Regions from separate parts of the Homo sapiens genome. Here all the other regions are linked to region 1. Evidence: promoter capture Hi-C in 16 types of primary human blood cells and fetal thymus (Javierre and others, 2016). All regions are on one chromosome and are shown on one strand. The core of a region is centred on a gene start or on the middle of the fragment in contact, and the rest is flanking DNA. Distances in the headings are between cores, read along the strand shown. Region 1 holds the start of SPATA6L (spermatogenesis associated 6 like). Region 2 has its middle 91 kb from the start of GLIS3. Region 3 has its middle 39 kb from the start of GLIS3. Region 4 overlaps JAK2 (Janus kinase 2).

The links. Contacts are between HindIII fragments. The CHiCAGO score rates a contact against its expected background, and 5 or more counts as called.
Region 2: a contact is called between a fragment that was not itself captured here and the fragment with the promoter of SPATA6L in region 1, in 1 of 17 cell types (naive CD4 T cells). The highest score is 5.6, in naive CD4 T cells.
Region 3: a contact is called between a fragment that was not itself captured here and the fragment with the promoter of SPATA6L in region 1, in 1 of 17 cell types (naive CD4 T cells). The highest score is 5.1, in naive CD4 T cells.
Region 4: a contact is called between a fragment that was not itself captured here and the fragment with the promoter of SPATA6L in region 1, in 1 of 17 cell types (total B cells). The highest score is 5.0, in total B cells.

What each region holds. Positions count from the first base shown.
Region 1 is chr9:4,665,230-4,667,929 of GRCh38, reverse strand. SPATA6L (spermatogenesis associated 6 like) reads left to right here and starts at 1,450. Exons shown (of 12, transcript NM_001353486.2): 1 at 1,450-1,718. The coding sequence starts at 1,680. PLPP6 (phospholipid phosphatase 6) reads right to left here. Exons shown (of 1, transcript NM_203453.5): 1 at 2,672-2,700. RefSeq lists silencers at 1,522-1,601, 1,612-1,661. The HindIII fragment of the contact is 11,868 bases long and covers 1-1,573 here.
Region 2 is chr9:4,389,433-4,392,132 of GRCh38, reverse strand. It overlaps a transcript of GLIS3 not described here. Among named protein-coding and RNA genes, the nearest start is that of GLIS3, 91 kb to the right of the region's middle. The HindIII fragment of the contact is 7,468 bases long and covers 1-2,700 here.
Region 3 is chr9:4,337,720-4,340,660 of GRCh38, reverse strand. It overlaps a transcript of GLIS3 not described here. Among named protein-coding and RNA genes, the nearest start is that of GLIS3, 39 kb to the right of the region's middle. RefSeq lists an enhancer at 978-1,272. The HindIII fragment of the contact is 1,497 bases long and covers 918-2,414 here.
Region 4 is chr9:4,988,082-4,990,880 of GRCh38, reverse strand. All of the region lies in intron 2 of JAK2 (Janus kinase 2), which reads right to left. Among named protein-coding and RNA genes, the nearest start is that of JAK2, 4.2 kb to the right of the region's middle. The HindIII fragment of the contact is 718 bases long and covers 954-1,671 here.

The sequences.
Region 1 (2,700 bases), core at 201-2,700:
CAAGAGTTAAGACTAAGAAGAGCATAGAATGGAACATTGTGTCTCTAGAGATCAACAGGATGTCTATATTGCAGACCCAGTGATGTGGTAGGGCACACCTGGATTCAAATGTGGCTGCTCCCTTATTAGGTCTGTGGCTTTTAGTAAAAGGCTGTCTAGCTTCAGATTCTGCATCTGTAAAATAGGGATAATATCTCCCTGATAGAGTTATTGTAGGGTTGAGATGAATTAGCATACGCAATGTGCCTAGCACTTTGCAGATCCTCAGTAAAGACTGATTCTTCTCTCCCAATACAACTCTGGCTATTTATTAATTTGTTTTGCTTGTCACTCTCCTTGATTTCTTAGCATTGGTGTTGGTGACCTACCTGTTAGGATCATCACAGGTCCTGTCCCACATCACTCTGGGTGTCAGCAAGTTGTGAGTGACAAATCAATGATCTGGACACTATAGATAGTTAGGTGCCCACCTGTATCTCTTGATATGCAGAGAGACACAGCACTAGGAACTGGATAAGGATACAATATGCCCTTCTTCATCATACCAAGTTTTTCCCTTCCAGGGAAATAAACTCCAGTTACCAAAATGAATACCCAATCTTGTCTTGACCATCCTTCTGCACTATTTCCAATTGTATAACTCTCTAATGCAAAATATTAGTAATAAATGACTGAACATAATTTAGGATTTAAAATTTTTTTTTCAGAGGCAGCATTGGCCTTCCTAGATTTTTTGGATTGCTAGAAGGAGCCACTACCTGCTCCTTTCCTTCATTTTTCTCTATTAGATGTAGTGAATGTCCCCTACTCATTCAGAACTCTTGCTCTGCGCACCACCTCTGACAGTGTTTACAGTAACTGTGGTTTTGGCAAATGCAATAACTACCCATTGGACTACTCAATGCTTGCCTTAAACTAAACCCCAGAAAAGGCTGGACACCGTTATGGAAAGACTGACATATTTCTATTGCTGCTAACAGGGGATACCTAACTTTTAAATATGTTTAAGAATTAACCTTATATTTCTAATTAGCACACGTTTGTTATTGACGGTGGCCATGTTTTCCGAAGCAAACATAACATTTAATAAGCAAAAGAGTATTTTTAGGAACAGGCAACTATATTAAATGAGAATTGTTACAGAAACTACAAGGCTTGGGGTCGTGCAGCTACTAAACGTGTACTATTTAAATTATAACAGACCTATGATCTCATTCTACTTTCAGAATGAAAACGGTAAACATTCTGACATGGTAATTGGGGATAGCAGGAGCTGATGGAAAGAAGATCGGGATTGTTAGCATTTCTCTATCCGTCTAGCACGCCAGACAGGGCCAGTCTCTCCGGCTGGGGGCACTGCGTGGGCAACAGCGACCGTGAGGGCGCGCGTCTGCGCTGGGGCCTCGCGCGCGTTCCACGATGAAGACTGCGCGTTTGAGTGTCCCTGGCAACGCCACGCTTCCGCCTTCTGGAAGCCTGCACTCCAGCTTCGAGTGTGAGAGACCCGTCCCGGTGGGAGGGACCTGGGCTGGGGGGGACGGTAGGGGAACAAGGGCGTGGGACTGGGGAAGCTTCTGGGAACATTTGCTCTAGGTATTCAGCTAAACTAAGAAAAATTGGTCCAAGGCTCGGCACAAAAGGATCTTCTCATTCCAGTCCTTTCGCCCACGCAGGGAACGATGCCTCTGGAGGTGGTGGTGGAGCTGCAGATCCGGGCGGTAAGAGATCGATGAACTCCCCCTCCTTAACCTCAAGTCGGACTCTAAATAGTCTCAGGTGGTTTTCAACAACCCTCCCCCACATCCCCCACTTACCACAAACACATCATTATCTTCTGGGACAGATCGCACCTTTGTCTTTTTCTCCATATTGGTTTTCCCTGACTTCCTAACCTTTAATTCAGCTCCACCTGTTCCCACTTTTTTTTTTTTCTGTTCTAAAGCTAACATGTTTCTTATCTTTATCATGAATTTTTAATTTCTTTTCAAACAACCCTGCATTAAGTCCAGGTAGAATTTATTTTCTTCTCCTGGATAAAGATTTGTGAAAGGATTTTCAACTTCTTTAAATAACCAGGGAATAATTTTAAAAAGCTCCATCACTTCCTGATTATTTGCCAACTCTATGAACCAATCAGATATTTTCTATGATATTTCCCCTTAGTGATAGCTCTGGCTTGCTAATTCCAAAAGGGAAATCAATCAATCACTATTTCGTAATTACCAAATCCTTCCTAAGTGAAGTGCTGTGGCAGAGTGACTCCATGGTTTCTACTTGGGGGTCTGTCACTCCCTCTTATTTCAGTTTCCATTTTCCAATCCTTCCATGTAGTTAGTAACAGAATATCATGCCGCTTTTCCTCTAGGGGCTTTTCTACTGGCTATGATTACAAGCACAGTGCTAACAGGAAATTGTCATGGAATCTGGTTGTCTTCCATACAATTGGCAAATGGTGTGGTTTCATCATACATGTGGGTGTGAAAGGTGATCAACATTTCCTGGATTTGTCCCACTTTGCTGACAGCAAATAGGGCTAGACCTTATTAGTAGTGCTATACCAGTTTTAAGCTCTAAAAATTGTGCAGGAAGAAGGAACTCTTGAGAAGCTAAGTGATAAATCTGTCTCCCTCCTCATCAAGGCAAAAATTAAGCAAGTTTTCATCTCACTTCATTCACCATTATTTGTTAATTTTATTTTGA
Region 2 (2,700 bases), core at 98-2,597, 280 kb after region 1:
GCTGAAGCTAATTGCTTTCAGGTTCATCCATGTCCCTGCAAAGGACATGATCTCATTCCTTGGGCTGTATAGTATTCCATGGTGTATAATGTACCACATTTTCTTTATCCAGTCTGTCACTGATGGGCATTTGCATTGATTCCATGTCTTTGCTATTGTGAATAGTGCTGGAATGAACATACGCATGCATATATCTTCATAATAGAATGATTTATATTCCTTTGGGTATATACCCAGTAATGGGATTGCTAGGCCAAATGGTATTTCTGGTTCTAGGTCTTTGAGGAATCGCCACATTGTCTTCCACAATGGTTGAACTAATTTACATTCCTCCCCAAAAATATGTACATTTGTAAGAATATTAACAGTACCAGGTACTGGATGTGTGTTTCATTGTACTAAGTGCTTTACCAAATCCCTATTGACAGTACAAACCTCTATCTGAATTTCCTGCTCTTAATCGAGATTTTTAAAATATAATTTTCCCCCAAATTTCGGTTAAATATTTACATATCTGGTAGAATAAACTGACCATCTCAACCTACCCGAGCCCAACACACACACACACACACACACACACACCCCTCTTAGAATGGAATAAATCTAGCAATGAGGAAGAAACTACTTGAACCTGGTGCCAGGTGACACAGGCAGAGTGATTTTTCAGTTATTGGGAAAAACCTTAATGAAAACAGGCTCAGAAAAAAAGTCTACTGTTATTAATCCAAAAGAAGTAGAGTTAAAACTATACCAATAAGAGAACACACCCCCTATATAGACTAGACAAGCAATCTTTGGAAGAAATTGCTTTTCTCACAGAAAAATTAGATGGTCTCTAAGGAATTTCTGAAGGAAACCTGGAGGCAGGCTCTTCTGGAGGTGAGGTACCCCCCATGTCCCCACTGTCCCTTCCACCAGAGATGAGTGCATCTATGAAAGGGGGATCAGAGGAAGCCTCACTGACCTCCAGGTAAAGCCAGAGGCAGCAGAATATTACAGACTGAAGAGGTGGCTGGGTCTAGGGCTTTCTATCCTGGCAGCGATGGTGGGCAGAGATAGAAAGGGAGAGTGAGATGGAGAGGAATGACATCCAAACAGAGGAGAAGACAGGAGGATGAGTAGACAGAGAAATAGGCAGGAAGCAAGCCTTTGTGGAGATACTTTCTCAAAGGCCCCAATGTGGAGAACTTGTTTCCCTTCTGAGACATAAGAAAGGGCATTAACTTTTTTAAAAAGGTACGATTCCTGTTTCTGCCTCCAGCTCTCTACTGCTTTGGGTCATACATGAATCTTTCAGAAAGACAGTGATCTAAACCCTGTCCCAGCGGAGTCCAAGGAAGGTAGAAAGTTAGGATAAGGAGAGGTAGCCCCATTGTATAGGATGAGTATCTGTCCTGTCCCACAGTGGACTACTGGGTGGGGAAGAGCCACCACCAACTCTGGATCTTCTAGCCTGAGAGAAAGGTGATTTCCTAACTCCCTTGACTTTTCACCCTCTTCAGAGGGTCACCACAGATATCTGTATGAGGCCAGAGAGACTGGGCACTCCCATGGGTATAAGCGTATAAACCCTACTTGCAGTTTATGAAGTTTATCAAGTACCACTGGGCATGATGGTGTGTGCCCATAGTCTCAGCTATCCAGGAGGCAGAGGCAAGAGTATCACTTGAGCTTAGAAGTTTGCGGGTACAATGAGATATGAATGCTCCAATGCACTACAGCTTGGGAGGCTGAGCAAGACCCTGTTTAAAAAAAAAAAAAGACTTTTATCAAGTACGTAATATATAAAAACAATATCTGGGTTTAGACTGCCACAAAGTCTACTTATGCTCTTTCCTGCACATAGTGCAAAGTATTGCACCCTATGCATATTATGAATGATTGCTCTCAATACATAGAAGTGATTGCATACTTCAGCTGCGGCTGCTGCTTTCCCCCTCCAACTTTATTCTCCACAATTTGGAATGTTTCAGAGATCTTCAAACATGTCATGATCTTTCAGGCATCTATACATGTCCGTGGTTCCCTCTACCTCAAATGTCTCTCTTTTCTCCTCTGCCAGAAATTTTTTATTAGTCTGGGTTTTAGCCCATTGCAGCACATAGTATTTGTTCAGGAAGTGTTGATGGAATGAAAGAAAGAATGAGTGAATAATTCCCTTCTCCACTGTCTTAGAACGTTCTATATGTGTCACTCATTTTACTTATCACACTGTGTTGCTTCTTACGTATCTGCCACAGATTCTTGATGTCGAGCACTGCTGCCTGGCAGGATAAACCAATAGAAGAGTGCCTGAAATATAGCAAATGTTCAACAAATTATTGTTGAATTGATCTGAACTGTTCACTCCCTCTTGGACATCTGCTTATTCACTGCACTTGGGCACCTGTATGTCTGTATGCGGTGCCGTCTGTGTGTCTTTCCTCAAATGCAGGTGTTTTTGTAATATGGCTTTCTGGCTTGACGTGATGTGATTGTCTTGGGCAGAAGTTAGCATACTTCCAGTGTCCAGGACTAAGAAGTATATTTAGCTGGTTATTTTGATTTAGATTCTTCTATTGAACTCTAAATTTTTAGTTAGTTCAAGATCCAAGAACCTTTGGAAATGCAGACTCTACAGGACCATATTTCACCAACAAGGGCTTTTTAGTTCCAGCAGCCTTTGGAAGTCCCACGTGGCTCTATGCACTGTGCGATATC
Region 3 (2,941 bases), core at 417-2,916, 330 kb after region 1:
CAACGGTCTCCAGGTTCAAGTGTCCATGGTGGTTAATAGCGTGGATGTGGAGATGAGCACATGGACCATCACCCTCACTCCCTCATTCCTGCTGTCCTGCCACCACAAATACACAGAAGCTTAACCCTAGACCCAGGAACCATCCGGGCAAGGAGAACAGGGATGGAGGATGCATCCTGAAAGATGAGGAATTTGCCCCAAAGACACTGGGTAAGACAAAATAAAAGAATGTTTCATCCTGGAATTGAGTTGCCTTTTAATTGGGAAGTTGAAGTTTTCCCCCACCCCCTCACTTCTATTCAGCTCAAAAGTCAGATGACATCAGTCATGGCAAATAAAGGAAAATGACATACTTTTTTTTTTTTTTCTCATTTGATTTGTAATTCCTAAACTTCTATCTGGGTACAGACGTTTTGGATTATTCAGAGATTTAAAAAATACATACTAACTCTGTTCCCCTGTGGTAATTAAAAGTTGGCCATGTAAGAAAGAAAATATTAAAAGTATGGAGAAGGCTGTAGAAAAAGGGAATAGATCCAGAGATTCTAGGGGAATATCAACCTCATGCTAAGCCAAGCCGTGAGGACATGGTGAATTCACTGATGAGCAAGAAGCAAAGCCGCTTGTCAGCTGGTATTAAATGTTGACTTCTCCCTAGTCTTTGTGTCTTGGTCAATACCAAATGAGAGAATGTTTGCTCTTAAGTTCACTCTAGGAAACTACCCACCAAAAACTTGCTTTACCTTTCTGTCTCTTTTCTTTTCCTTTCCTTTCCTTTCCCTCCCCCTCCCCTCCCCCACCCCTCCCCTACCCCCTCCCCTCCCCTCCCCCTCCCCCCTCCCCCTCCCCTCCCCTCCCCCTTCCCTCCCCCTACAGTTTCTGGTTCTCTGGGCACGTTTTGATCCCAGTGAGAAGCTTCTTTTGTACCAAACTTCCCAAATCCCATCATTGCATTGTTATCTGGCTTTGAAATGTCACTGTGGCATCTCCACCCTTGCTTGGGAAACTTTGCTCAATGAAAAGTCTGATTAGCTTTACCTGACCCTAAATACACACAACAGAGACGGATCACAGAAGGACCAGAAGCAACAGGTTGGAGAGGTTCTTTCCGGTTAGCAATCCAAACCTCTGCACCTATTTGGCCTCTAGGCGGCGCCAGCCCTTCAAAAAACAAGGCTGTTTATGTAACAGATTGGCAGTTTGAACGTCTATATAAATGTCATTCTTTAAAAATAAAGACGAAACTCTCAGTTAACTTAAACAGGAGCAAATTAAAAAGTAGAGTGAAGCATGTATTTCATGAACACAATTCATCGGCTGTCTTTGGTACTTCAAAATGAAACATTTTCTCCAAATAACTGGCACCCTCCCACTGGCTTTAGCTACATAGTGACAAAACAACAGATCAATTCACTTCAGTGAAGAAGACAAATCCAGTCATTGAGGACTGGCTTCATGTGACTTACACACCTGGGGACAGAATTCTATCTATGCCACCAAATATATAAGCCAAGCCACTAAATCATGACTGAGGTGTTGAGTTTATCCTCCCAAACATATCGAGGTAGTGTTGTATGGACAGTCTCAATTGTTTTGAACATGATTATTTTGCTTCATGAACTCACCAGGAGGGTCCTTGAAATGCCGCTTTTCAACATAGTTTTAAGGGTAAGCCTGTAACACATAAAGCCGTCTCATTTTGAAGGCTTTGTGTCCTTGTGTGTTAATGCAGAATCTCAATCTTAGCTTCAAAATGGAATCACTTGGGGAGCTTTAAAAAAAATCCCAAGACTCAGGCACATACCCCAAACCAATTAAATAAGGATCTCTGGAGCTGGGACCCAAGCAACAGTGCTTTTTCCAGGCTCCTTAGGTGATACAATATGAGGCTATATTTTTGGTTCCTCTACTTTCTACTTGCAGCTCCTTCTCCCATGGGGCTGGCTACAGGAACCAATCTCCAGTACTTACACTATTTTCCCCCAGTTCCTTTTTCTCCCTGGGTCTGTCCCCAAACTTCATGCAGAACAATGCCTGTGAACAAGTCACATGCCCTTTAGATTCTTCCAGACCTATTTGAAATTCAGTGGTAGCCACATCTTGACTTCAAGTTTGGGGCCCTATACAGTCATTGACTAGTAGATATGAACAGTACCTCATAGGTTGTCTAGTATGGTGACTCCCAAATACCAGTCCTGAGCTGAATTCTCATCCTGAATAAGAATAATCCAGGGAGCTTGTTTAAAAAATTGTGTGTGTGTGTGTGTGTGTATGTGTGTGTGTGTGTGTGTGTACACACATATATAATAGAAATCCATCTATCTCTCTATATATACGTATAATTTTGTTACCAGAAAGTCTCATTCAGTAGGTCTACAGAAAGACCTGAAAGCTGTGTTTTAACAAGCTAAGCTTAAAGGAAACTCATCTAGTCCAACACTGCCAACACATAGCAGCAGCAAAATCTCAATGGGATATGCCTTGTTCAAGGAAACTTGTCTAGTCAGGAGAAGCGATAGGATTAGAATCAGGTGTCCTGACTCCTGTGAAAAGAAGTCATGCTATGGACAAATACAGTTTTTGCATTTCAAAACTAAACACACACACACACACACACACACACACACACACACACAGCCTTGCCAATCTTACCAGTTAGACATTAGAGAAAGAGCAAACCATCCTGGGAAATCAGATCTGGGTCCTAGCTCCTGCTTGGTCACATAAGCTGTGTGGTTTGGGGCAAATATTTTCATCTCTTTGAACCCCAGTTTCTTCATCTTTCAAATGGGGGTAATAGTTGCCTCATAGAGTTTTGTGAGGATTAAATGATACAACATATCTGAAAGATGGATAGTGGAGCCTGGTACTGAGTAAACAAAACTGGTTGCTACCACCTCTACTATTATGCTACTATTGTGATCATTATTATGAACATTAA
Region 4 (2,799 bases), core at 63-2,562, 320 kb before region 1:
TTTGGAAAAGTCTCCACTGATCACCCAACTGTCAAATCCAAAGGTCTTTTGTTAAACCGGAGAGAACAAAATATTAACAGTGGTTATTTCCACGTAGGGAAAGTATAAGCAATTTTCTTCTGTTTTTATAGATTTCTTATTAGGAAAAACACGAATACATCTTTTTAAGACCTTTTTTTGGATCTGATTCTTCTCATTTCTTGCCAATGATCAACATGTTGATCATTCCGCCTCCTAACCTATCCACTAATTTGCCTCTCATACTGTTTTTTTCTTTGTCTCCTTTACCCATTCCTCTCCTTTCACCCACCCGCTAATTATGGGCAATCCCACTCTTTTCTCTTAAGTACCACAGCACCAGCCTTAACTTCGCTAACAAATTCTAGTCATATGTCCCACTGTATGCTATCAATTTTCACTTGCCCATCCCACGGCCACCGCAAACTCAACATATCCACAATATACGCTCAACTGTCTACATCCCCTCTACCAGCTACTAACACTGCCATAACTATTTTTGTTAGTAACTGCCATTAATCAAACGGCAGTTTCTTTGTCATTAACTAGCTGAGTAACTTTGGACACATTTTTAAATCTCTCTGGTCTGAGTCCTAATATACAAAACATATAGACTTAGATGTTCTAAGATGTCTTGGAGAGTCAACACTCTTTGATTTCCTCCGTCACTGAAAAGCAAACCTTCAAGGTAAGGTAATCTTTAATCACTCTTCTCCCCTCCATTCTCCCTTCTTATCCAATCCATAATAATGTCTTGTGACATCTCTGCAATCTGACTTATTTCTAAGTCCTCATTACTTCAGGGCTCAATTATTTTCCTACCTCTTTCTACCATTCTCTTTCCAATTCATATGAGACCTAGCACTGGTGCTGCTTTGATTTTCCTAAAATACTTATTTCAGCAAACTCTTTCTCAATTCAAAACTTTTAAAGCTTCTCCATATCTACAGGTCAAAGTACATTCTTCTCATCCTAGCATTTAAAGACATCCATAATCAAATTCCAACTACATTTTTAACACAATTTCTTACTACTCTTTCACACAAATCTTCATTTCAGTCAAGTTATTTATGTACTGCTCTCTGAACATATCATACATATATACATATTTTGCCTTTGCTTACCCCCTCTACCAGTTCCTTCCTATTATGCAAAATCTCTGCTCAACTCAAGTGGTCTTAAATATCTGTAACTTTTATTATTTAGCTTATCTGCCCAATTATACTGTAAGTCCTTAGGGAAAGGAGCCTATTTTATATTTCTTTATTTCTCTTTTGAATACAGCCAAGTACCTTTTACATTGCAAGTATTAACAAATATTTGTTTGGTGACTACAGTTCCTTATCACACAATCAACATGTATTTCTTGAATGCTGCCCATGTGCTCTCCACTGTGTGTTGTGGTTTTTTTTTAATCTAAGGTACTGCTCCTCAAAGAATACACAATCAACTTGAAAAGATATGGCTAACACTAGGGAAATAACTATCAAACAACTAAAGCATGGCATATAATTAAACCATGTGAAAATGTTCTAAGACTAAAGAGCTACAGAAATAGAGGAAAAAAAAGAGGGATGGAGAACATGGGCAAAAATTAAAGGATAGAAGAAGCATAGCTTATTATTAGAAAGTGTGGAAATCAGCTTACAAGCTTAAGGACTAGAGATCCTTAGACAAAAGACTAAATAAATAGGGCAGGGATTGATAATAGACTATCTTAAAAGTCAGGAAAATTTAATAAGTAGAAAATGGTAAGCCACTGAAGGTTTTGGGGCAAGGGAATGCTATAATAAGGAGTATTAGAGTGGAATCTCTATTGAGGATAAACAGAAGGAAGGGACACTGAATTCTCAGAAGTTCAAATGACTTTCAATATTCTAGGCTCAGGAAATGTGTCCTGGGATTCACACAGTAAAGGAGGGAAAGCAGAGATATGAGAAAGAAAGGAAATATGGACATTTTGAATGGGAATAAGAGGTAAATGAAAGAAGTAGTTTAAAGATGATGCCTAATTTAAAGCCTACATGATTAGAAGAAAATTAAGGGGTAGAAAATGGTAACTTTCACTTGGGGCATTCGGAGTTTAAGGAGATGAACAGAAGTAGAAGCAGAAGACCAGTACAGGAAAAACCAGGAAGTGACTAGTACAACAAGTTAGCAATAGGATTAGTTTTAAAATGAAAGAACTGGGCAGAAGTTATAAACATATTACATAGGAGAGGAAATATATTAAGCCATGATCAGCTGGTACTAGCTTTATATCAATAATTTTATCAGAAAAGCAAACTAAAAGCTAAGGCAGAGGTTTCCAAACCCATTCAGGGAGCTCTGAGTCTTAGCAAATTTTTCACGACACCCCCAGGCCAAAAGAAATAGGTTTGAACAACTTACTTAGTAGTTATGTCCTTACAACTTAGTGTAGAGCACTGTAGAACTTATCAAACCTTAGAATCAAATTGGACAATACCACACTGTCATTTCCTGTTCTACATTCATTTTCATGTAGTAGTTGCTTTTTATCGGAGCAACCTCTGAAAATACATCTTTACAAAGACATGACATTGTAGAAACGGGTGTAGGTATCTAATATTGAAACCATGAACCAACTCAAAACACAAGTTCAAGCCTGAGGTGCTCTGGGCACCTTGGCACACAGTTTGGGAAACTGGGAGCTAAGAGGAGGGGTCTAAAAGGGAGTGGGGAAGGGTGGGAAATGTAATGGGAGAAGAGCAAAAGAAAGGTCTTAGCACAGTTAACCACAAGGGGGCAGCACAATAATTG